Regions from separate parts of the Homo sapiens genome. Here all the other regions are linked to region 3. Evidence: promoter capture Hi-C in 16 types of primary human blood cells and fetal thymus (Javierre and others, 2016). All regions are on one chromosome and are shown on one strand. Each heading gives the region's core, a stretch centred on a gene start or on the middle of the fragment in contact. The rest is flanking DNA. Distances are from core to core; before and after follow the strand shown.

Region 1 (6,733 bases), core at 2,702-5,201, 4.5 Mb before region 3:
GAAAGCATGCATTTAGAGTCGGGGCATGGTGGACACCAGGGCAGGTGAGAGGTTCTGGTGGCTGGTTCAACATCTGGGAAATTCCAGAAGGGGGGAAATTCTTAATGTGGTCTGAGGGGAATGAGAACCCCAGGAGACTTCAGTCTTCACAGGTTGGTGTACCTTAATATCAGATCCAGCCTGCCTGCTGCACAGCTGGCCAGCAGCTTTACTTAGTCCTTATAATGGAAAACTTTTCAACTGAACACTTGGGATTTTCAGCTAGGGGATGCAGCACTGATTTTCATTGAGGGTAAACGGTGATTCACTTTGTAGACATGTATTTTATAGCCAGCTTTGCCAAGATGCATGTTCCATAAAGTGGGACAGTAGTGAGACATCACCACTGCTTCTTTTTTTCTTAAGCCAGTCAAATTTAGCAGTAGGGGGTGTATACCAACTTTAGCAACACTGATGTTAGTAAGTTCTTATTTTTAACTTTTTAACTTTAATTTTATTTTTTCTGCTTAGGTAGCTAATAAGTTCTGATAGCCCTTCTTTTTTAAAAAAAAATATTTATTTATTTATTTGTGAGATGGGACCTCACTCTGCCACCCAGGTTGGAGTGCAGTGGCATGATCTCGGCTCACTGCAACCTCCACCTCCCAGGCTCAAGCAATCCCACCTCAGCCTCCAGAATGACTGGGACCACAGGCACACCCCACCACACCTGGCTAATTTTTGTATTTTTGGTAGAGATGGGGTTTAGCCATGTTGTCCAGGCTGCTGTTGAGCTCCAGCCATCTGCCTGCCTCAGCCTCCCAAAGTACTGGGATTATAAGCATCAGCCACCGTGCCTGGCCCAACCCTGCTTCTATTAATAACTTTTATTAATACCTCACTAAATGAACCTATGATGAACTGTTGAATTGATGGACTTGAAAATACAATCAGTGATACTTCCAAAATGTATATACAGTAGCCAAGGGATTAGAAAAGTGGTAAAACCTGAAACATATGTTAAGTAAACTTTGTAGCCAGTTATGAATCATGGAATAGAACAATACCAGGATTTTAGAGAAATTAATGAAGGGTCTTTAGTTGATTGCTTACTTTGTAATGATAAAGAGAAGGTAAAACTGCACCTACTTTTTATTTTTGAAGTTAGAGTGATCACACCTGTTAATTCCTGCTTTCCTCCGTTCTGCATGTCCAAGCATCAGCAATGGTATCACTATTTAGATCCTGCTCAAGATAGTTTAAGAATCTGGAAACTTTTTGAAGTGTGGCTAAAAGCTGATTTATTTTGCTGCCATGATAGATGCTAAGAGCTTAATAATGTGAGATTTCATGGATGCTAATAAAATTTATTTCCTTATTGTGCTGCATCTACTTAATAGACTGGGCCCTGTGGTTTGTTTGTTTATTTAAGTCATCTGAGCACTTAATAACAATTTTGAGCAAAGGTACCTAACTAGTGGAGAAGTTTCTAGATACATTTTTTTCAGATATAGCTTTTTTTGTTTTGTTTTGAAATGGAATTTGGCTCTTTTTGCCCAGGCTGGAGTGCAATGGCACGATCTTGGCTCACTGCAACCTCCGCCTCCCTGGTTCAAGCGATTCTCCTGCCTCAGCCTCCCATGTAGCTGGGATTACAGGTGGGCGCCATCATGCCCAGCTAATTTTGTATTTTTAGTAGAGATGGGTTTCACCATGTTGGCCAGGATGGTCTTGAACTACTGACCTCAGACCATCCGCCCGCCTCAGCCTCCCAAAGTGCTGGGATTACAGGCGTGAGCCACCGCACCTGGCCCCAGATATAGCTTTTTTGATAGAGATGGAGACTGAGTTTGGAAAACTTTATCCTTTTTCTTCCATTTCTCCTTTTTGTACTTATAAATATTCTAATGTTTTCTATTCATTTTAAAAAATCCTTTAGTACCACTTCCTAAACAAGTTCCATATTCACTGTAATTAAATTAGGGTTATAGTACATTAATGGAAAAGACCTTAAGAATTACTTAAAGAAAGGGATTGACTCAACTCTTAGGTTTAACAGCTGAAGGCTGGGCGCAGTGGCTCACGCCTGTAATCTCAGCATTTTGGGAGGCCAAGGTGGGCAGATTACAGGCGGATTACCTGAAGTCAGGAGTTCGAGACCAGCCTGGTCAACATGGTGAAACCCCGTCTCTACTAAAAATACAAAAATTAGCTGGGCGTGATGGCAGCGCCTGTAATCCCAGCAACTCAGGAGGCTGAGGCAGGAGAATCACTTGAACCCAGGAGGCGGAGGTTGCAAGTGAGCCAAGATCTCCATTGCACTCCAGCATGGGCGACAAGAGTGAAAGTCCATCTCAAAAAAAAAAAAGATTTAACAGCTGAAAAAACCTGAAGCCTGGAGAAGTTACAGCAGTTGCCCAAATGCCTGCCATTGTGGTGTGACTAACACAGAACCAGGCATTTCTTTTTTTTTTTTTTTGAGACGGAGTCTTGCTTTGTCACCCAGGCTGGAGTGCAGTGGCGCAATCTTGGCTCACTGCAACCTCTACCTCTGGGTTCAAGTGATTCTCCTGCCTCAGCCTTCCAGGTAGCTGGGACTACAGTGCACCATGCCCAACTAATTTTTGTGTTTTTAGTAGACACAGGGTTTTGCCATGTTGACCAGGCTGGTCTCAAACTCCTGACCTCAGGTGATCTGCCCAGTCCATTTCTTTTGACACCTGATCCAGTGATTCTTCCTTTTTGTTTCTTTTTTGTTTTGTTTTATGTATATTTATGCTTGACATTATTCCCTATCTTCATTTCTGGTATCCTGTGGTAGTGATTAAAAAAATACATCTGGGCATCACTTTGTTACTAAATACAGAACAAGCGTAGTTTAAATTCTTTTAATGTGAGTTTTTTACTCTCAGAGTCTGGATATTAAGTGCAGTATATTCCTGAGAATAAATGTTGCTGCTCTAAGACGATCTAATGGCACCTACACACATGGCAGACCTGTGTGTGTAGAGACACACTAGCAAGGAGAACTTGCTTTCTTAGCCTTAAGTAATTTACAATTTAATGGGTTATCTTGAAGAGGAACTGCTATGAGGTAAATAAAATATAAACCATTCCAGTTCTTCCATTCTTTGGCAAGCTTTTGTTATTCTGGTTACGTTTGTTTAAGAACCATATAACTAGTTTTAGCCTCAGTATTAACCTTGTAATTTTAAAGTTCCTATTTTATTAATTTGTGTCAGGCTGAATATTACTTTTGATATTAACAAGACTTAAGGAAATTAATAGAGAATATTGCTGTTATACTAAGTAACTATTTTTTGATATTGTTTTTAATTGAAAAATCATAATTGTTTACATCTATGGAGTTTATTTATTTTTACTAATACTATTTTTACTTGACAGCTAATTAACTATTAATTAGAGGCTTTAGTGCTCTGAAGGGATTTTGGCATAAAGGGGAAAATACCTGGGTTTATGCTGTGGTGGTGACACTTACTAGCTTTGTGATCCCATGTAAGTAATTTAACCTTTTTGAAGAAATTTATATTTTTTTCCTAATATATACTATGCATTATTTTGAAGATTAACAATGTGCTGAAAATTATCAACATATTCTGGGTCAATCAATTCAGACACTGGAGTGCCTTATATTATAGTCATACCTGTGACATATGGACCTTCCACCATGTAGTAATCATTATCCTGCCTAACTCACAGAGTTTTTGTAAGGTTCAGAAGATAATATATTATTTGGAAGCACTTTGAAAATTGTAAAAAAAAACAAAATCTGTCCAGTTGTATGGAATTATTAACTATCTTTTCTTTCCCCTTATTCTTCTACTCCCCACTTTCTTACTGTCTACCCTTGAATGTAAGGGTGAAAAAGAAATCTGGTAGTCAGTAGCAATAATACTGCAAATTCTTTTTGTAGTGGAGTATAGTTTTAATCGTCAGTAAAAGTAGAAATCTCTGGGGAGCTTCTTCAGCTCCAAGAGCACTTTGATTGTTCCCTGTCTGTACCACACAATTTTATACTCTTGTATACTATTTCTATGTATACATAGTTAGCTAAGTAGCTAAGTATTTATTTCGTTTTTGCCTCCCCCAACCCTCACTTTTGGAACACCTAGAAAGTATTCAGTAAGTAATTGTTTTATGAATGGGTCTCCCCAATTTGATTATAATGAGCTACAAGCGCTTCTGTTGCTGTATAATGTCCCTGCTGTCCTTAGCAAAATAATGGGTTTACAGTAACCTGGTAATAAATACATTTGCTAGTCTGACCTGGGAACTCTGAGGAGCATAGCAGCCTTTGGATTTACAGCCATATTACCTGACGCCCGCTGCTTTTTTTTTTTTTTTTTTTTTTTTTTTTTAGTAGGGGAACACTTATTACTATTCTGAGCAACACAATTTGAGAAACACTGCCTAGGGTGTGTTTTGCTGATGTTGCTGGGCCGGTTCCAGCTGCCCCAGGGTTGCCCTTGCTTGCTTTCAATAGCGGTCAGGCAGGATGTACTGCAGAATAGCAGTTAGTGAATCATGGTATTAGAACCAGAAAGAACTTCTGAGAATTTTTTACATTAGGCCAGTCTCTTCATTTTTCAGCTGAAGACTGAAGGAACTTTACTAAAGGGATTTGTAGATAGGCACCGACTTCTCCTTCACAATTGTTTTAGGACACATTTTGAGTCACTGACATGAGCCTGCGCTCCCCTCACCTGCGTACCTTATCTATACTCAAGGCTGACTATTTCACCAAATTAATTTTATGTAAATCCCAAAAATCATTATTGTTTCAAGAAGCTTTTCATAAGTAAGGATGAGAAAGCTGCTTTATGTCTTACTACTTAATAACAAGCCATCTATGCTGAGACAATCAATTAAAATCCCTGACTCAGTAATAAAATAATTGCTACAATTCATAGAGTGTCTATTATATGCTGAGCATGCTACAGACCTACAGTTGTCAGGGTTTTTATTAAGTTTATTTTTCTCTCTTAGCCTTATTTACATTGAAGGACTAGTGTCAGGGTTTTTTAATATCCCCATTTTATAAATTAGGAAATTGAAGTTCAGATAGACAATTTGGCAGAGGTGACACATCCAAATTAGTGATGGGAAAGAAATTTGAATGACACACGCTGACTCCAGCATTATTGCTCTTTCTGCTACAAATAACCTGTGCCAGATGTCATGCTTCAGGAAGAAGAGGAAGTGGTAAAATATGTTCGCTGCCCACAGTTCACAGTATATAGACGGAGTGATGAGCCACAAATACAAGTAACAATAGTGGAAAGAAAATAGAATCAGTGCCATAACAGCATGAGGGGTATCAGCAGGGTATCAGCAACAGCTGTATGAATGAAGTATCATTTGAAGTGTTTGTTTTGTTTTGTTTTGAGATAGAGTCTCACTCTGTCGCCCAGGCTGGAGTGCAGTGGTACCATCTCGGCTCACTGCAACCTTCACCTCCTTGGTTCAAGTGATTCTCCTGCCTCAGCCTCCCGAGTAGCTGGGATTACAGGCACCTGCCACCACACCTGGCTAATTTCTGTATATTTAGTAGAGACAGGGTTTCACCATGTTGGCCAGGCTGAGTTCTTGAACTCCTGACCTCAAGTGATCCCCCTACCTCGCCCACCCAAAGTGCTGGGATTACAGGTGTGAGCCACCGTGCCCGGCCTGAAGTGGATCTTGAAGAACTTGGGTGGGCAGAGGTAGCTGTTCAGGTAGATTAGGGGTAGATGTTGGCAGAGCCATGAATTCCAGGCTTAGTTCATTGGACTATCACTTTTTAATCAGAAGTGATAAAACCATAATGTGAATGGAGAGAAAATGGCAGTGGGAATACCCATTAGGAGACTATTATATAAGGCAGGTGAGAGATACAGAAGACCTGAAGTTAGGGTTGTGACTCTGGGTATGGGAAAGCGGCTGTATCTCCATGTTTGGGAGAGATTTGGGGTTCTAGTAGGCAGAATCTCTATGACATCTTTACTGGATAAATCTAAGAGTAGGTTTAAGGAGGAATGGGAAAAGAGGAAGTAGATAAGACTTCAGGATTTTCAGCCAGGGCATGGGAATGACCAGATGCCTTAAATTTCACATATCAGGTACCACTTTAAATATTAGGTCTTAATTCTCAGCTCCTTATGTTTATCTCTGTTATAATATTGATTCAGAACGTTAGGGTGACTGGGAGAATTATTGATATATTTGGTGTTTCTAGGGATTATTTGCATTTCAGAAGACGTGTTTGGATCAAATTTTGTCCAACAAGTAATAATCTGTACAGTAGGGAAGCTGTTGTCTAATCCTAGGGATTATTTGTGTTTTCTATCCTGCTCTTTAAGGAGTAAAATACTACATAGAATTCTTCTTTAGTTGCTCATGCATTCTTTGCCAGGTGACTTATCCCAGCCAAATCTTTCATACTAAAAGAGTATAAAACGTTTGTTTTATTTTTCCTCATCATAATTTTTTTTTTTTTTTTTTTTGCGACAGGGTCTTGCTCTGTCACCCAGGCTGCAGTGCATAGCTTACTGTGGCCTCGAACTCCTGAACTTGAGTGAGCCTCCTGCCTTAGCCTACTGAGTAGCTGGGACTACAGGTGCATGCCACCTTGGCTGGCTAATTTTTTCATTTTTCTTTCTTTCTTTCTTTCTTTTTTAGACGGAGTCTTGCTCTGTCGCCCAGGTTGGAATGCAATGGCGTGATCTCACTGACCGAAACCTCCGCCTCTGAGGTT
Region 2 (6,903 bases), core at 1,310-3,809, 4.7 Mb before region 3:
GTCCTAGACTTTCATCAGAGTATCTACTCTCCTTGTTTAATATGTGCATGAGAGCTGGTGAGTCTGAGGGATGAATTGGGTAGAGAAGAGCAGTTAGCAATATCAGATCATTCATTTGGATTGTTACTTTCTTTGTATGTCTCACTTTGGGCTGGGGAGTAGGGAGGAGAGAGGTGATGTAAGTGAAATAAGAAACTTTAAGAACTTTATTGGGAGGCTGAGGCAGGAGGATGGTGTGAACCCGGGAGGCGGAGCTTGTAGTGAGCCGAGATTGCGCCACTACACTCCAGCCTGGGCAACAGAGCGAGACTCTGTCTCAAAAAAAAAGAACTTTATCTTCTCTGTTCATTTATACCTTCAGAATATTCTTTTCTTTCAGGAAGCCTTTATCAAATAAAAATGGAGACTTCACAATGTAAATGAAGATTCCTACTCAATTTTTTTTGGGTGGATTAAGTAGCTAGCTAGTACGGTTAAAGTGTAGTGCGATTGGTAAACAGTTGACTTTTCTGCACCTGTAAGATTATCTCCCTGGTAATAGGTAATCATAGCATGTTATTACATGTTAATAAACTTTGATTTCATAATTATTAGAAAGACTGTTGTTTTTTACTCTTTGTATAAAAATATGATACAATTATAATGAGCATTGGAAAATCCAATAAATTGCCCTTTATAGTGGTATCCAAGGAACTAGTTACTAATACTTAATGGAGGAAAAATGATAAAAACATACACAGATGAATTTTATTGTTTTTGCTGGCATTAAGAATTGTACTATACCTTATGTTAGTATAGCATTTCACATTTGTAAATAATAACTATATTTATCATTTGGTTCTCATGACAACTGATAAGTTGGTGTGTTAGGAAGTAATAACTGCTTTATATTTTATTTTATTTTATTTTATTTATTTATTTTTGAGACAGGGTCTTGCTCTGTTGCCCAGGCTGGAGTTCAGTGGCACAGTCATGGCTAAACTGAAGCCTAGACCTCAGCCTCCCAAGTACTTGGGACTACAGGTGTATGTCATGACACCCAGCTAAATTTTTAAAATTTTTTATAGAGATGGGGTCTTGCTGTGTTTCCTCAGGCTGGCCTCGAACTCCTGGACTCGTGGCCCTCCCACCATGGCCTTCCAAAGTGCTGGAATTACAGGCGTGAGCCATCGCTTCCAGCCAATCATTGCTTTTTGGATGAATATGCTGAGGCTAAAAAAAAAGTTTAAAAAGTTAAATTTCCAAAGTATGTGGCTAGTTAGTGGCCACAATTAGAACTACAACTAAAACCCTTATTTTTGTTCCTATGTCAGTATTCTTTTCCCACCAGACTTCTTACTCTTCATGTACAATGGAACATCATTAGTTAAGAGCTGTATGTGAAGGATTTGAATTTACCTGTTTGGAATGTGTTAAACTTTTGTACCGTGTAGAGGTAAACTTGTCAGTTTTTTCCTTTGTGTTAAAATGGTAATCTCACTGCAGTGGCTATTGGTAGGTGATATTTAAATTTGTAAGCATTGTACCACAGAATAGTTATTCTCCTGTCAAGGATAAAGCAAAAGTTGATTTCTTATCTGGAAAAGTACATTGGTGAAATGTAGATATTTATTTTTTTGAAAATTTTGAATTTAATTCTGTTGCTTTTACAGATGAAGTTTGTGTTTCCCTTTTATAAAAGCTTAGTCTTCAAAAATTTACATTTTTTGAGGATATAAATGAGGATCTAATTTCCAAAATATATATAGATTGGGTATCCCTAATTCAAAGTTTGAAATGCTCCAAAATGGGAAACTTTGAGCCACCTACATTACTCAACAGAAACATTCACTGGAGTATTTCAGATTTTGGATATTTGGATTAGGGATACTCAACCTGTATCATGATATTTTATTATTTTTGTATTAGATCATAAGCTCTACCATTGAAAAAAACCCAAAGATATTAAAAAGCCCTCCTTAGTGGATGCTTCAATTCATACATTTAAACAACTTTTTTAGGGAATGTATAATGTAAAACCATACGTCAGATGGTTTTTAAGTTATAAGGAAGACTAGCATGGTTTTTAAGTTATAAGGAAGAGTAGCATTTGTTGATTTAGTCTTGACATTTCTTTTTTCTTTTTTTTTTTGAGACGGAGTTTCCCTCTTGCTGCCCAGGCTGGAGTGCAATGGCGCAATCTTGGCTCACTGCAGCTTCCGCCTCCTGGGTTCAAGAGATTCTCCTGCCTCAGCCTCCCAAGTAGTTGGGATTGCAGGCATGCACCACCACACCTGGCTAATTTTGTATTTTTAGTAGAGACGGGGTTTCTCCATGTTGGTCAGGCTGGTCTTGAACTCCAGACCACAGGTGATCTGCCCGCCTCAGCCTCCCAAAGTATTGGGATTACAGGCATGAGCCACCACGCCTGGCCGTCTTGACATTTCTTAAATCTACAGTTCACTCACAGCACATACTGGCGTACCTACTATGTGCCAGACATATTTCTAGGTGCTGGGAGTACAGTGTTGAGATGACAGATATGAAGCCTTTCCTCTTGGAACCTGGAGTTTAGTGGAATCACTAACATTAACAAGGGCATAGAACTTTATCTTCTCAGGTTGTAATTTTGCGGAGTGTAATTAATTATACCTCTCCTTTTTCTGGGGTTTGAACAAATTATGCAGAACACACAAGGAACCAGGTGAGTGTTGTTTCAGTTATGTACTGCTGTGTAGCAAACAGCCCTAAACCAAGTGACTTAAAACAACCATTTTCTTTGTTACAGTTTTGCTTTCCTGGGTTGGGCTCAGTTGGGCAGGTTTTGCTGGTGATCACTCTAATGGCTGCTTTTCTCTCCAAGTAGCCTTTCCAGCAGAGTTGCTGGCCTTACCTGGTAGCTGATGGCTTAGGGCTCACAAGAGTACAAAACAGAAGCAACCAGATCTTTTTTTTTGAGAGGGAGTCTCACTCTGTCACCCAGGCTGGAGTGCAGTGGCTCAGTCTTGGCTCACTGCAACCTCCACCTCCCAGGTTCAAGCAATTCTCCTGCCTCAGCTTCCCGAGTAGCTGGGATTACAGGCGTGCACCACCATGCCCAGCTAATTTTTGTATTAGTAGAGATGGGGTTTCACCATGTTGGACAGGCTAGTCTGGAACTCCTGAGCTCAGGTGATCTGTCCGCCTCGGCCTCCCAGAGTGCTGGGATTACAGGCGTGAGCCACCGTGCCTGGTCTGCAACCAGATCTTCTTAAGGTTTAGACTTGTAAGGGATACAGTATCATTTCTGCCTTATTATACTGGTTAAAGCAAGTCACAAATCTAGCCCAGGTTCAAGGGTACAAATGTGTGAATCCATTTGGGGCCACCCATGTAACAGATTACCATAAATTTTATTTAAGTATAACATCAGCTTTACTATACCAAAACAGGACTTACGGAAAACTGTTTTGGAAGCTGAAGCTTAGGCAGCTTACTACTTTCCGCAAATCTGGATTTTGAGTCTGAGCATGCCACAGGGAAAGCTGAGTCTAAAAAGTGCAAATGACAGCACATCTGGCTTACTACGCAAATGGGAATACCTAGCACTCTCCTTGGTTAGAAAAGAGGAGAACATTTGTGGCCTCTGAGGTTTTTCCTAGTGTGCCACCATAATAGGGTAGGATTGACTTGCCTTCTGCTTGAGGGCAGTGGGATCTAACAAAGTACAGGACCCAAGAGTCCATGCTGCTTGGAAGTAGTGATTTACCCGATCTCGTGAATTGGAACAGACAGCATCCCATGCAGAAAATGGGCCACAGATGGGCAGAGATCGATTCCCTCTGCCCTTGTGATTGGATTTGAGACCTAGGGGAGAAGGGTTTCTTGACTATCACTCTGGCCTTGACCAGAGTGAGCAACCTGTCCCCCACGCGCTCCAAGCCCCAATGGCATTTTCTGTTTGCAGTGTCTTGAAAAAGCTTGGGATAAGCTACTCTTCCTTGGAGAGGTGTCATTATAGTGGAGAGAATTCTCTTTCCTTCTAGAGACTGGAATGGTAATCCTCTCTTATGGAAATACAATGAATAAGGTGCTGCTTCTCCTTTCCAAGAACAGGTAGATTCATTGATTGCTATCTGGGTTTTTCTCGCATTATCACTTAACCTTATCCACTATCGCTTTATTTTAGTCTTAGCAGTATTTTTTGTTTGTTTGTTTTTAGTTCAAGTTGGCTGCTAAGTAATGCCATGGTTAAAGGTGAAATGAAGAAAATGAGTGTTTAGTTTTTATTACATTATAGCTTCTGAGTGGAGTAGTGAATGCATTTCATTTTAAGAATTTAGGTTATTAGTGCATAGCTGCGAAGCATTTTTGAAGCATTTCATGTACACTAAAAAACGGGCCCCTGCATCCTAATGCAAATCTCTTTGCAAATTTCTGAAAATAGTACATTGGCTGTTGCGGGGAGGAGTTTGGTAATTGGATGTACTGAGAAACATGATTTATAGAAATAGGAAAGGCCAGGGCACAAAGAAGGGCACGGATAGAGTTACATGAAGGTGCTTCTTGATGGCTGTCCTCCCTACCCTAAATTATTTGGGTAGTTAAAAAATATCCTAGCATTAACAGAATGTAGGTATGATAGCCTTTTAGGAAACAAGGAAAACAAGTTCTTTTGATAGCTGTTCAGTATACTCATAAATCTGATTGACTGGGCTGGGTGGAAGCTGACTGTTGAGTCCTGACTTGAAATTAGGATACTGTGGTTACACATTAGCCCCAACTTGCCAAGATGTCCTACTTTTTGTCTGTGTTTAGTTAGACTGGGGAGGAGAATTAGTTAAATGAACCTGTTTTGTATAAAGTAGGATATTCTTTACCTTAGAAGTAAACAAACTAGATTGTTCTTCTCTTTTTAAGTTTTTAACGGTAGAGGCACTTTTGGCATACAGGTTAAGAGTCACAGTTTAAAGTCAGGCAGACCTGACTTCTGGTAGTATTGCTTAATGGCAGGATTGCCTCAGTTTCTTCTTTTGTAAAATGTAAAGAATACCATCCTTAATGGATTTTTGTAAGGATTAATTGAAATAATGTTTATAAAGCAGAAAGCATGGTGGCTAGAACGTAAGCCCTTAAATCATGTTTATTGCTCGTAATTCAGTATTATGAAGTTGAAAATTCAAACAAGTATTCACTTTGCTGTGAGCTACTCATTTCTCAAAGACAGTTCTAGCTTCGTTTTGGCATGGGCAGAGCTCCTTATCAAATTTCCACCCCCAGCTTTTTTTTGAGACAGGGTCTCCGACAGCTCTGTCTCCCAGGCTAGAGAGCAATAGTGTGATCATGGTTCATAGCAGGCTTGACCTCGGGGGCTCAAGCAATCCTCCCACCTCAGCCCCACAAGTAGCTGGGACTACAGTTACGCACTAACATGCTCAGCTAGTTTTTTTTTTTTTTTAGTAGAGATGTTGCCCAGGCTGGTCTTGAATTCCTGGGCTCAAGTGATCCCCCCTACCTCGACCTCCCATAGTGCTGGGATTTACAGGCATGAGCCACCAGGCCTGGCCAAATAAACAAAAAAAAAGTTGCTAAAAGGGTAAGCACGAAATCTGGGATACTGACTTAACATGGCTGGCAATATATCAGCTAGTGATGGTTTTGCTGTGCAGCCTGGGAACAAGAAATCATTAACACCATCATTAGATGAAATATTGTATTGACCAGTGTTTGTCAAAGCGCAATCCTTATATAACAGTCGTCTGGGATGCTTATTAAACATGTTGATTCTTGAGTATCCTTTGAGATCTCTGATATGGTCCTTGAGAGTGGAGCTTAGGGATCTTCATTTTTTGCAAATATCTCAAGAGATTTTATGCACATTAGTTTGAGAACTGTTGGTAGAAACTGAATTGGTTATTTGGGGTCCTAGTGTGCTCTGTCAGAGTTCATTTTTCTAGCTAGCTAGCTAAAATATTCCTTTTTTTTTTTTTTTTTTGAGAAAAGGTCTTGTTCTGTCACCCAAGGCTAGAGTGCAGTGGCAAGATCATGGCTCACTGCAACCTTAACCAACCTCCTGGGCTCAAACGATCCTCCCACCTTAGCCTCCCTAGTAGTTGGGAGTACAGGTGTGTGCCGCGACACCTAGCTAATTTTTTATTTTTATTTATTTATTTATTTATTTTAAGACAGAGTCTTACTGTCACCCAGGTTGGAGTGCAGTGGCGCTATCTCGGCTCACTGCAACCTCTCCCTCCCAGTTTCAAATGATTCTTGTGCCTCATCCTACCGAGTAGCTGGGATTACAGGTGCATGCCACCAGGCCCAGCCAATTTTTGTATTTTTAGTAGAGACGGGATTTTACCATGTTGGCCAGGCTGGTCTCGAACTCCTGGCCTCAAGTGATTCACCCGTCTTGGCCTCCCAAAGTTCTGGGATGGATTATAGCCATGAGCCACCGTGCCCTGCCTAATTTTTTATTTTTCTTAGAGATGGGGGTCTTACCTTATTTCCCAGGCTGGTCTTGAACTCCTGGACTCAAGTGATCCTCTCACCTTGCCCTCTCTCCCAATGTGCTGGGATTAAAGTTATGAGCCACCATGCCCAGCCCTCAAGTATTCTTTAAGTACACATGTGTAATGTAAATACAAAGAGAGCTTAACATCTGAACCTTCCAGATGTTTAAAACAGCCTAAGATAATTGCCAAGGACTTGATCCAAACAAACTCTAGAAACTTGATACAGGGTGATTACAGTGAGGAGTAGGCAAGAGAAATGATACTGCAAAGAGATGTCCATTAGGCTTCCTTGTTCAAAACATTTCCTCCGTACTTCTTTCTACAAAAGCAGAAATTATTTTGAGTGAAGCTAATTCTTTTTAAAAAATGCCTACTAAAAGTTAAGCTAGAAGTTATGATTCATTATTAAATAGTCTGATTGCTTTTCACT
Region 3 (6,184 bases), core at 540-3,039:
TTTGGAAGTTTCTTTACAGTATCAGTAGTAACATGGACAAACTTGTTATTTTTTTCCTGCTATACTTAAAAATAAGGGAAATAAAACTGTACTGTTTTCCAATTGTCAGATTTGACATTTAGAATGTTATTTGTCAAATCTACAGTGACAAAGCCCTTTTACTTAGGTTTAGCTTAAGAACATGCGTATTTGTATCTACAATACTACATGCTAAAAATAAAACAGTATTTGTCCAATATATTGAACATGTGGTATGCCCTTCCAGTTTAAACGTAAACTGAAATTTTACACCCAGCTTATGTTTCTATTTTTGTATTTAGTTTTAATGCCCTATACATAACAATTTAAACTTAATGCTCCTTAACTAGTTTTAATGCATACCATCAGTTCTTTCATACAATTGCCTCCCTATTCTTATTTTAATTCAGGTTCTCTGTTAGCTGCAGTAAATCCTTCAGCAAAATTTTCAGGGAAAGTTCTTGGTTGATATACTTTCCTAACCCCTGTATATCTAAGAATGTCTTCCAGTTTCCTTTGTAAAGAAATGATAACTTGGCAGAGTATATAATTCTTGGCTCAAAATTATTTTCCCTTAACACTCTAGATATTGTTCCACTGTCTTCTGGCATTTAGAATTGCAGGAGAAAAATCTGAGGTCAGCCTGACTTTTGCCCCTTTGTAAGTAACCTGCTTTCTCTGACTGGATGCTTGTAAAATGTTTCGTCTTTGAAATTCAAAAACGTCACCCGGATATGTCTAGATGCTGCTTTCTTTTCATTAAACTTTAAAGGTATCCTATGAGCCTTTTCCATTTGTAGATCTAGTTCGTTCTTCAATTCTGGAAAATTTTTTCAAGTAGATCCTTTATTGTTTCAGCTCCACTTGCTCTGTCCTCAGTTTCAGGTATTCCTATTATGCATAGATTGTATCTCCTGGACCGGCCCTCTAGATCTCTCTTTTTCTCCTCTTAATTTCTTTTCCCCTTTTCTCTGTATTCTGTGACAATTTGTCGTTTTGCACTTACTTCAGTAATTCGATTTTGTGGCCAATCCAGCGTGCGCCCTTCTGTTAACTCTCTCAACTTCCTGGTATTTTCCAAGCGCTCTAATAGTACCCTCTTTATCATCGCGCATAGGTGTTTAAGCTCCTGTATTATATGATTCTCAATCCTTCTTATATCTTGTTTCCATCTCTATATCCGTTTCAAGAGGAGGCATTTTCTCGATTATTTAGCGCTGCTCCTTTTTTCTCAGGGGCGGTATTACGACCTTGGAGACAATAAACATAATTTAATTCCACACAGCCCCAAACAGCCCAAAGATTCCCATTGATAATTATCGACGGCTTTATTAAAATGCGTTATTTTTCTTTCTTACCTTTTCAGTTGCTTTTCTTAGAAACAGGGACCAAAATCAAAGATTAAAGAGGTCCTCTGAAGCAGGGAATGAAATAGACGTTGAAAACTATTCCCGTTACGCCATCTCTGCGCGCCTCACGTCAGGGCCAAGAGCCTAGCGCGTAGCTTTATGGCTGACTCGGCTCTGGCGCTCTAGCCAATTCCGAGGCTGCAAACTCCGCTTCTCCGCTCGCAGTCTGGTTCCTCCCCTGCCGCCCCGCCCATCACGGCAGGGTCACGGTAGCGCGCACGCGCAGCACCCCATTTAAGTTTCTCGTCTTTGCAGTGGCTTTGCTTAGATCCGGTGCCGCCTTGAAGGCGGGGCTGGGTCCCAGCCGTAGCCAATGGAGCCCCGGGTGAGGGTTGAGGGGTGGAAGGTGCCTACTAGCCGGTGCAGGTTTCTTCTAGCGCGTGTGCTGGGGTACCTGGTCGTCATGGAGGCGGTATTGACCGAAGAGCTTGATGAGGAAGAGCAGCTGCTGAGAAGGCATCGCAAAGAGAAGAAGGAGTTGCAAGGTGAGGCGGAAGGAAGTGGGAATCTGGAAGCCGCCGCGACTGGGGGAAGGGCGCGTGGCGGGTCGATTCTGGGGAATCTCAAGGCGTGACTTATCTGGATCACCCTAGACTTCCCCTAGTAGCAAGTGGCCTCTTCTCTCTTCACCTACCCCGGCGGCCCTTTAATTCCCCAACCTTCAGAGGCTTCCCCTTCTGAGGCCTGCGGCGTGCCCCCTACCCCGCGCCGCCGCCGGGGTGCAGGTGTCTGAAAATACCTAGAAGCCGCCGTCTTGGTCCGCTCCCAAACCCACGATGCCTCCCTTTTCTATACCTGCCCCAGTTACCGATACTTGTCCCTAATGGGTGTATTTTGAATGGACCCGCCTCAGTTTAGGAGGTTCAGAAAGGATACCGGAAAGATTTAAAACTGGCTACAGTCAGGTTTTTTTCCTTCTCTTATCTCGCCAAACAACCGAAACATATTCAAGATTTTGTTAATGAAGTTTTTTTTTTTTTTGGTCTCAGCTTTATCTGGGATCTTCTCTCTCTGTAGCTGCCTGTTACGTGATGACTCTTTCTTCCATAATTACTTTTTCTGTACCCTTCGCCCGTTACCATCCCCTTATTGGTTCCTGTTTCTCATCTCCTTTTACTCCTGCGTGTCTGACTTAATGATTTTAATGGCTTTTCAGCCAAAATTCAGGGCATGAAGAATGCTGTTCCCAAGAATGACAAGAAGAGGAGGAAGCAACTCACCGAAGATGTGGCCAAGTTGGAAAAAGAAATGGAACAGAAACATAGAGAGGAACTGGAGCAATTGAAGCTGACTACTAAGGAGAATAAGGTATGTGAAATAAATGTTTGTCGTTGCCTACACCATTTGAAAACAGCTGTCCACTTCTGTTAAATGTTAAACTGCTTTTTTTTTTTTTTTTGAGACGGTGTCTCGCTTTGCAAAACACGCTCAATCTTGGCTCACTGCAAGCTCCGCCTCCCGGGTTCAGGCCATTCTCCTGCCTCAGCCTCCCGAGTAGCTGGTACTACGGGCGCCCGCCACTACGCCCGGCTAATTTTTTGTATTTTTAGTAGAGACAGGGTTTCACCATGTTAGCCAAGACGGTGTCGATCTCCTGACCTTGTGATCCACCCGCCTCGGCCTCCCAAAGTGCTGGGATTACAGGCGTGAGCCACCGTGCCCGGCCCTGTTAAACTGTTTATTATCTAAAATCATAAAATTGGTAGGGAAATGAAATCACTTAGTTATGCTCATGCATCACTTCTCATTAATGTTTTTGTGACCAAGTTTACAGGGCAGTGTGTTTCTATAAGGGAGATCGGCAAAGAAAGTGCTATACTTCTTTACCTATTTACTTGCCCAAAAGATGAAGCTTCACCAAATCAAAGTTGGAAGACCAGGCATCTGATCCCAGAATTGCGACTGAATGGGATTGTAACCTGAGCAAGGTTACTTAATCTTTCTGAGCTCAAATTTTCCCACATATATAATACGATACAAATATTTCTACACTCTAAGCACAGGTTTTTGTAAGAATCAAGAAAGTGAACGTGAAGTCATTTTTGTTATAAAAGTGCTTTATTAACAAGTTGTAATGAATGAAATTTTACTGATGTTTCTTGGGTAAGTTGGAGCATCCTAACTTTCATAATTTTAACTAATATTTATTTTATCGTTGGATCTAATATATATGTGTCAAATACTTTGGTTTATATGTATTATCTCATTTAACCTCAGTAACACACTGTGAGGTATTACCTATGAAGTAAGTATACATAATCCCATTTTTCAAGTGGGAAACAGGGTTAGAGAGATTAAGAACTTTGTCCAGGAGTCGTAACAGCTGTTGATTGCCAAAGCCAGAATTCCAAATGAGAACTATCTTACTCCAGGAAGTGAATACTGAATTCTGTTACAGCTTTGTATAGTGTGGTATTTATTGTATGGGTTTTGGATATGAAGGGTCATATAGACCCCACAACCTCACTCCATCTTTGATAGAAAGTTCTTATGTCTATGTAAAATCTTAATCTGCCATACTTAAATTTTGGTTGATTTTTGGTTTGCTGTTGACAAGTACAGCTTGTCTGTGCTTTTTATAATGGTCCTTACATTAAATATAGTCTAAATTTCTTTAACTTTGTTAGTTATCAAGTTCCCAACTTTCCTTGCCTTTAATGTACTTCATCTCCAGGTAACAAGGCATATATGATACTCCAGGCGTTAAATTGTGTTGTGACAATTGTGTTCCTAATTGTCTCCCCATCTTTTCTATTAATGAGATAGTTTTGTTTGCTCCCTCAGACCTTTCCATTTTGAGGTTTCTTTCCCAGGTTTCCAAGGACAAAAATGTTTGATTCATAAGCTACATGGAGTCCTACTGTTAAAACACAAACTCCCATTTTAGTTTGAACTATTTATCTGTTTCATTAATTTAAATTGGTTTTCTTTTCTGAATACTACCAAAAACTAATGCCATTGCTTTTTTGTTTTTCAGATGCATCTCTTTTATCTTGCCTATTGTCAATATAGATGTTTGTAAATTTTAACAGCTTCCTCTGAAGAATCACAGGACTCCTAATTTCACTATAGTTGATAGCCACTCTTTGAAGTCTCTATCTGATTTTGATATTTTGATCATTTGGGACACAGCCTTTGCAGACTTCTGTCTCTGTGTATTAAAGGCCTTGAGTTGTTCTATGCATGTGTTATACTAAAAACTGGCTTACCTTAGAGTTGCAGTAATAATGGCTACTCATCCTTATAGTTAAAAGTCTAGCATCTTTTTTTTTACTCTAGCAAACACACACTAGCCATTTAGGATTGATTATAATATCAAATGATATTACAAATTAAATATATTTTCTGCCTGCAGTTATCAGTTTGTAGATGGAAAAGGGTAGGGTAGGAAAAGCTCAACTTGCTACTAGGGTCAAGGATTAGTACTCATCAGGTTCTGGCTAATTAAGATGGAAAAAGGCCTCTGCTGCCAGTAGAGGTTATGCAGGTAATAATGAACTGAGCCAGCACAGGACCTTTATCTTATATGTACTGGCAGTAGTCAGAGAAAAGAAGAGTGGAGTGCTAAATGAGTTGGCGCTTACAGGAAGTACAGTACTGCATTTAGATTAATGGAGTAGGCATTCTAAGAAGGAAGGAAAGCATGCAGGGATGAGCATGATCTTTGAAAGAAACTTCTTGGGAACTTGTCAAATTCTTCCATAAAAATAGAAACAGGAGACAAAACCATATTATCTAATACAGTGTCTATTGCTGTTACTCAAATTTGAAATGTGGGATTAGATATATTTATGATTTTCAGTAATTTAATAAGTACATTGACTTGTTAATGCTTTTTGTTTCCTTCAGATAGATTCTGTTGCTGTTAACATTTCAAACTTGGTGCTTGAGAATCAGCCACCTCGGATATCAAAAGCACAAAAGAGACGGGTATGAAAGTCATGTCACCAAGTATATAAGTTAGTGCTGTGTGTTCAATACTATCTTAGGTACTATCTTAGGTCTTGTTATAGGAAGAGAATGAAAAAAAAATGATGCAGTTCCTTGTCTAGGCACTTGAACTAACATTTATTAAGCACCTGCTGTGTGTCACATACTATGCTAAGCTGCTTATATGACATCTCATTTAGTCCTGACAATAATCCTGTGAAGTAGGATTTCTTATCCCCATTTTATGGAGAAGAAAATGATCCTAAGATAATATAAAATAACGTATTCAGGTTGCAGCTCTCATAGGAGAGCGAAGCTGGGAGTGGGAGTGCAAAGTAGTTTTTTTTACAAATATATTATCCCAGACTTAAAAATTCAGAATGTGGGCCCAGGGGATTCTGATGCACAACCCTAGCCAAGAACTATACCATTGGGTGAGAAATAAGGATTTGAACCTAGAAGTTAACATGTGTAGGTATACAAAATTCTTAGAGAATTATGTAGGTATCTATATAATGGTTAATTATGAAAATTTAGAGAAGGGAAAGTTCATTATGCTAATAATGGGTTGGAATTTGAAAGAAATATTATTTAGATAGGATATTCCAAATAGGAGGAGCAGCATGCACAAAAACAAATGTGGGGGTGATATATTGCATTATTGAAGAGCTATAAGGAAACTGATTTATTGGAAGTAGCTAGTTCATATCAGCATTATGGAAATGAGATTAGATAGGTAAGTCCCTTTGAATTTGAAAAAGAAAAATGATTAAATTCAGTCTTTTTAGTTGCGAGTATTATTTTATTAACACTTGATGTTTTCTATG
Region 4 (6,370 bases), core at 2,153-4,652, 4.2 Mb after region 3:
TCTTCTCTCGAAGGTTTCCACTGCCCAAATCACTACAATCTAATGGTGGTTCTCAGTTCCAATCCTCTTTAATCTTTCAGAAGCATCTGACACTGTTGGGTACCAATTCCTTATATTTCTTTTTCGATAAGAGGTTGCTAAGATGTCCTCTTAAAATTCTCTCCTTTGGCTTTCAGGACATACTTTCCGGGTTCTCCTCCCTCATGCAATTTCACAATTTCAAGAATCAGATACATCCAAACTCCACCAACCTAATCAGTACTGTTACAGATCCAAATTACCAGCTTACATAAGATTCTGGTCTGTTCTTAGATCACACAATTTCAAAATGCCTACACTTGCCTATGCTTTGCTATAGTAATAACAATAAAGTCAACATTTCATTGAGAACTCATAATTTTAAAGGACTGTATAAGACTCTTTTTGGTCTTTTGATGTGACAATAATCTCAATCAAATGTTAATAAGCTTTTACTGGTTCCCTTTCTGACTCTGTTTCTGACATTCTAATCTTTTAAAGATATAGTTTCTGCTGAAAATAAAACATATATTTAAGATAAAATATAAACACTTAAACCTATAATTAAATGTGAGAGGTATTATATAGAAAGCTTAAATCTAGATCTACTATGTCCTTGTGATTTAGCAATATGACTTTAGGCAAGTAACTAAGCATTGATTTGGTCAATGAAATGGGGATAACAGTATTCACGCATGGGATTGTGAAGATTAAATGAAATAACATATACAAAGCACTTAGCATACAGAAAGAGCTCAATAAATGTTGGCTGTTATTATAGTTATCATCTAGAAAGCTATATTATCTTTAAATATTCCCATCTGTATCATCCTGAACCACTTTATTCCTATTGCAGTTCTTCTCAACCCACATCAGTCTTTTTTAATTTTTTTACTAATCACATATTTCTTTTTATCATTTTGAACACTTCAACAAATTGCATGTTTTGACCTCTTACATTAGCAGTTGTTCCTGGTATCCAGATGTAGCATGGTCATTTATAGTATTATTTGCATTTATAGTATCATTTTAAGAGGTAATATTAGTATTTTAACTCTTATAAGAGATACAGGTTACACTGCTATACAATTAGTAGGTAATCTCCTGTCAATAAATTCAAACATAAATTGCTTCCTAGCTTTTAAGTATAAATTTTGGCTCAAGGAAAAATTTTAATATATAACATTATAAACCAGGTTGGGACTATATTTGGTATAAGGTTTAGGCCCTTTGTTGCTGTTTTTTGTACAATTTACAACTACATTGCCAGATGAAAAGTTTTAATATAAATGACAACAGTACTGTTTCACTAAGGCTTTTATGTTACTTAGTACTAAAAAAATCTAATGTATTAAGGTGGGCTGAGGTACTAGAAATATTATGGATGAATTTTAGTAGAGCAAGAACAGGCATGACACAACCCATGGTTGGAGAAGATCCACATAAATAGTCCTTTCCATTTTGAGCAGCTGGCTTCAATACATCCTGCCCCTCCGCATGCTAGTTCTCCTAAGATGAACAGCTCTGAAAAGCTCCTTGATAGACTAGTTCTATCCCCTAGAAGGACAAACGAAAAGTACTAAAGAAATTGCAAAGCAACACTGTTGTGGGATAGGGATGGTAGATGCGCTAATAGATACATAAGGAATTCCAGTACACAAGATAATAAAAGTTAATGAGAGTGATATTTACAACATCCAGCCAAATGAGTGTTAGCCCATTCATAGTAATTATAGTTGTTTCTAATTTTTGTTTTAAAATGCTGCTCAGAACTCAACTAATTTTTAGAAATTTTGTTTATGTACTCCTTTAGAATTTTTTCGATGCTTTTATCTTCGCAGAGTGAATTTTTATAAATAAATGTCACTGACTGGGCACGGTGGCTCATGCCTGTAATCCCAGCACTTTGGGAGGCCGAGGTGGGTGGATCACGAGGTCAGGAGATCGAGACCATCCTGGCTAACACGGTGAAACCCCGTTTCTACCAGAAATACAAAAAATTAGCCAGGCGTGGTGGCGGGCGCCTGTAGTCTCAGCTACTCGGGAGGCTGAGGCAGGGGAATGGGAGGCGGAGCTTGCAGTGAGCTGAGGTGGGCCACTGCACTCCAGCCTGGGCGACAGAGCGAAACTCAAAAATAAATAAATAAGTAAATAAAATAAATAAATATCACTGGAGGTAAGCCAGGTGAACTGGATAGTAACAGAGTTGGATAATACTTTGGGAAATCACACATACACACACCAAAAAACCAAAACCAAACCAAAGATGCAGCAAAAAAATTAACGGAGATGACGTTCTTAGATTGATCCAAAGTTGCCTCCGTGTAATTTCACAAGCGTTTCCAAAATATTCTAGGCAAGAGGCAATTTCCAAAAGATTCTAGCAAGAGTTACTGAAGGTCAATATTCTTATGCAAACATTTTGTTTTTTTTTTTTGAGGGGTTGTGGGGGAAATGAGGAAGTGAAGGAAATCCTATTATTTAATAATTACATGGAGGAAAAACGACTGGTAAATTTGAAAGGTAGTTTTTAGATAAAAAACCAAAATACCTTAAGAAATGTCCTTAAATTTCCATATGTATGTCTGGCACCCTTAACTAGGGGGCCATGGAGAGAAGGAAGGTAGACGGTTTAATGTTCACAATAATTAACCCTTTTGTAATGAATTTAATCTCATCTTAACTCCCTGAGTTAAAAAAATAAAACAAACTGAGTCAGGTGCGATGGCTCGCAACTGTAATCCTAGCAGTTAGGGGAGGCAGAGGCGGGAGGACAGCTTGAACTCAGGAGTTCAAGACCAGCCTGGCCAACACAGTGAGACTGTCTCTACAAAAAATACAAATTAACCGGGCTCGTGCCTGTAATCCCAGTTTACGTAATCCCAGATTACAGGCTCGTGCCTGTAATCCCAGCTAGGGTAGGCCGAGGTGGGAGGATCTTTGAACCCGGGAGTTGGAGGCTGCAGTGAGCTACGATCGTGCCACTGCACTCCAACCTGGGCGACAGAGCGAGACTCCATCTCAAAAAACAAACAAAACAACAAAACTGAGCTAAAGACAAATAGGATTGACCTGGGGAGTGGGGTCTGAGGCAATGGGATGAGGCTGTCTAACAGGGCACCTCACAGGGAGATGAGAACCGCTTGGCCACACAGAGGCAAAATGCGGCCGAGGTCAGCACAGCCCTCTCGGGGTTAAGAACGGGGCGCCTGAGGGGTATCCCGGTCCCCGACTAGAACCTCCTACGCGCTGGCAGCCAGAAACAGGATGAAGGAGACTGGCGCGGACTGCGGGCTCTGCGGGCGGGGCGGGGCGGGGCGGGGCGGGGCGGGGCGGGGCGGGGGCCAGCCCTCTGGGGCATGCCGGGGGGCGGAGTCTGCGCTGAGTGAAGAGGTGCCAGAATCCGCGAAGAGGGTCGACGAATGCGCTGCCGCGGAGGGTAGGGCGCTGAGGGTCTGAACCCTGATGCAAGGAGGGGCTGGAGGTCGCGGGCACGTTTCTTTTGGGTTGGGCGGCGGAGGGGCAGCTCTAGGGCCTGGAGCAGGGCTTTACCAGAACAGTCCACCCCTCCCGCCCGGTTAACCTGAGCGTCTCTTTCGCCTTGGCTTGGTTCCGGTCGCTACTGTGGGTGCCGCCGCCGCAGCCTTTGGGCTGCTCGACCATACCCCGTCTTAGAAGGTCAGGTGTGCAAAACTTGGACTCGACTTCATCCAAGAGCTCGTCCAGGTCCTCCGCCATCTTGAATCGCCTGGCCTTTTCCCCTCCAATCGCCAAGGCTCCGGTGGTTTCCAGGAGTAACGAGGGGACCTGGCGGGCTCCTGCCCCGTTAGGCGTCCCCGCGCATGCGCACCGCTTCCCGTGGCAACCCGGCGCCCACGAGGGCTCGCGGCAGAGAACGCGGTGGGTTCGTGAGGGGCGGGCGTATGCAGGGACAGAGTTCGGAGCTGTCTCTGCAGTGTGTCTGTGTGACTCGCGATGCTTTGCGTTTCTTCCTTTCAGCATGTCTGGCGTGGTTCCTCCCGTCTCCCCCTCCCGGGCCCACGTTGTAACCACAAGCACGCATTCTCGCCCCTTCATTCTCTCCTCTCCCGTTTGGGTCCCTGTTGTGTTTCAGCCGTTTGTAAATTCCTGAAATCTGTGGAAGGTTTGAGCAGAACGCTCTAAAACACAAAAAGTAAGTGTTGACGGCAAAAAGCTGACATTCCCGTAGTCGGCAGGATTCGAACCTGCGCGGGGAGACCCCAATGGATTTCTAGTCCATCGCCTTAACCACTCGGCCACGACTACTGGCTGTGTGAATTTTTGCGGTGAGAGTGCATGTAGACTCTGCATAAGCGTCTGCTGCAGCAATAGGCACGTTTTGATGTGGAGGAAACCATTACTGAGCTGTTCTGTTAAGAGCATATTTGAATGTTACCTCGCTCATCATTTTACAGTTTGTAAAAGTCTTAGAACGTATCCCGTCCAACTCTTTGTTGGAAAAAACGGAAATTCTAATTAAATCCGAGAGAGAGAGAGAGAGAGACAGAGAGAGAGATGCGTGCTCAAAACTATTGCACACCCACTTGCTTGCACAATGTTGGAGCCATTTCCAGGAGAGAACCAGGAACCGGGTAGGGGCCAACCAGCTTCCCGACTTCCTTGTGGGGCTGCCAGTTCCACTCCTTCGCCTTTCTCTTTGACAAACGGCTCCCAGGACTATCTTTTCACCCATTATACATTAAAAAGCTATTACCCAGCGATTTAAATTCACTCTGCAGGGTCAGACAGTCCCACCGTGCCATAAAAGCACTACTTTGAAAAGTGTAAAGCGTGATACAAGTGTAAGGTATTGTAAATGGCATTCTTAATAAATACTGTGCATAGTTTAACCTGTGTTTTGGGTATTTCTAAAGTGGGGTAGCAAAGAGGTTGGCACCCTTGGGAACTCTGGAGATAGTTTGATCCAGATGATTTGTTTGTTCAAAGTATCTTTTAAGGTCCCTGAAGAGCAACATGTAGTGGTGTGCTGGAGCCAATGGGACATGCTCACTCCTACCCAGTGATAAATTTTCAAGGATTTTGGGAGCTAGTTGTTAAATGCAATTATTATTAAATATTAAATTATGCAAACTTGCAATTACATTATGTTAAAAGCAAATATGATACTCAAAATTCATATGCTAGTGATTCCACTACCTTTTACTATTATTTATAAATATAATTGAGATTGTTTACATCTGAAAGACTTTCTCTCTTTAACTTTCCATTCAGTGATGTCACTTGGGAAGCTTGAAATGAGCCATAGTGGGTGTTATTTACATGAGGGAAATTGCAAATGTGACAAAGCAGGGCTTTTTATCCCTAGGAGATGAAAGATACTTTGAACAAACAAATCATCTAGATCAAACTGTCATTTAGTAGAACACCCCATGTTACCATCAGACCAACTGTGAATATTCTCAGCAAGGCAACACTCCCCTTTTCTGCAGGGCTGCTCTATTTATTGTCTCTGAATCTTTGTTTTAGCTATTAGAATCCTGGCCTAAACACACACACACACACACACACACACACACACACAAATATGCATATAAACATATATGTATATTTACACACACAGGGGAAACTAGCATTTTTATGCAAAATACTTAACATTGAGCACTGACCACTCAGATCAGACACTGTCAGGATGCTTAAGTAGTATCCTAGAGGCACCCTGACATGTATTACCCTTGTAGTCAGAGTAGAGAACTCTAGAGGGTGGGGAGACAATGTTGGGGCAAGGAGGGGACTCGGACACTAGTTATTTGTCTAGAATCCTGGCATATTCTATGATTTCCAACTAATTAATTTTTTAAAGTTTTTTTCCAAGTTGCCTTGCTGGGCGATTTTACCTAGAACCGGTCTCTAGCAGAAAGGCAAGGAAAAGCTGCTTGAAAAAGCGGTCCTTGCAACATGGTTCCAGGGGAAGTCATAGTTAGTGGCCATCCAGTTTAACAGGCTTACATTAATGATTTGATTTTGCTCTTGAGAAGATGAAATCTGAGGGGATCTGTACCAATGTTGAAAGTATCTGTTAGCGGCCGGGCGCGGTGGCTCACGCCTGTAATCCCAGCACTTTGGGAGGCCGAGGCGGGCGGATCACGAGGTCAGGAGATGGAGACCATCCTGGCTAACACGGTGAAACCCCGTCTTTACTAAAAATACAAAAAATTAGCTGAGCGTGGTGGCGGGCGCCTGTACTGGCAGCTACTCGGGAGGTTGAGGCAGGAGAATGGCGTGAACCCGGGAGGCGGAGCTTGCAGTGAGCCAAGATCGCGCCACAGCACTCCAGCTTGGGCCACAGAGCGAGACTCCGTCTCAAAAAAAA

What was found. The method cuts DNA at HindIII sites, captures the fragments that hold promoters and counts their contacts. A CHiCAGO score of 5 or more calls a contact.
Region 1: a fragment that was not itself captured here is called in contact with the fragment with the promoter of OTUD6B in region 3 in 4 of 17 cell types (non-activated CD4 T cells, activated CD4 T cells, total CD4 T cells and 1 more); the score reaches 6.5 in non-activated CD4 T cells.
Region 2: a fragment that was not itself captured here is called in contact with the fragment with the promoter of OTUD6B in region 3 in 1 of 17 cell types (naive CD8 T cells); the score reaches 5.1 in naive CD8 T cells.
Region 4: the fragment with the promoter of CFAP418-AS1 here is called in contact with the fragment with the promoter of OTUD6B in region 3 in 1 of 17 cell types (activated CD4 T cells); the score reaches 5.7 in activated CD4 T cells.

What each region holds. Positions count from the first base shown.
Region 1 is chr8:86,518,220-86,524,952 of GRCh38, forward strand. All of the region lies in intron 2 of CPNE3 (copine 3), which reads left to right. Among named protein-coding and RNA genes, the nearest start is that of CPNE3, 7.2 kb to the left of the region's middle. RefSeq lists enhancers at 5,069-5,168, 5,189-5,238. The HindIII fragment of the contact is 1,670 bases long and covers 3,117-4,786 here.
Region 2 is chr8:86,346,105-86,353,007 of GRCh38, forward strand. All of the region lies in intron 1 of WWP1 (WW domain containing E3 ubiquitin protein ligase 1), which reads left to right. Among named protein-coding and RNA genes, the nearest start is that of WWP1-AS1, 5.1 kb to the left of the region's middle. The HindIII fragment of the contact is 1,760 bases long and covers 1,680-3,439 here.
Region 3 is chr8:91,068,555-91,074,738 of GRCh38, forward strand. OTUD6B (OTU deubiquitinase 6B) reads left to right here and starts at 1,790. Exons shown (of 7, transcript NM_016023.5): 1 at 1,790-1,912; 2 at 2,584-2,735; 3 at 5,277-5,357. The coding sequence starts at 1,831. OTUD6B-AS1 (OTUD6B antisense RNA 1) reads right to left here and starts at 1,635. Exons shown (of 3, transcript NR_110438.1): 1 at 1,377-1,635; 2 at 1,025-1,268. RefSeq lists an enhancer at 1,838-2,017. The HindIII fragment of the contact is 11,349 bases long and covers 1-3,277 here.
Region 4 is chr8:95,265,434-95,271,803 of GRCh38, forward strand. CFAP418-AS1 (CFAP418 antisense RNA 1) reads left to right here and starts at 3,403. Exons shown (of 4, transcript NR_038209.1): 1 at 3,403-3,457. It overlaps CFAP418 (cilia and flagella associated protein 418), which reads right to left and starts at 3,768. Exons shown (of 6, transcript NM_177965.4): 1 at 3,602-3,768. The coding sequence starts at 3,756. TRS-AGA2-5 (tRNA-Ser (anticodon AGA) 2-5) reads right to left here and starts at 4,305; the gene lies at 4,224-4,305. RefSeq lists enhancers at 3,360-3,799, 3,754-4,393, 4,430-4,509. The HindIII fragment of the contact is 4,678 bases long and covers 609-5,286 here.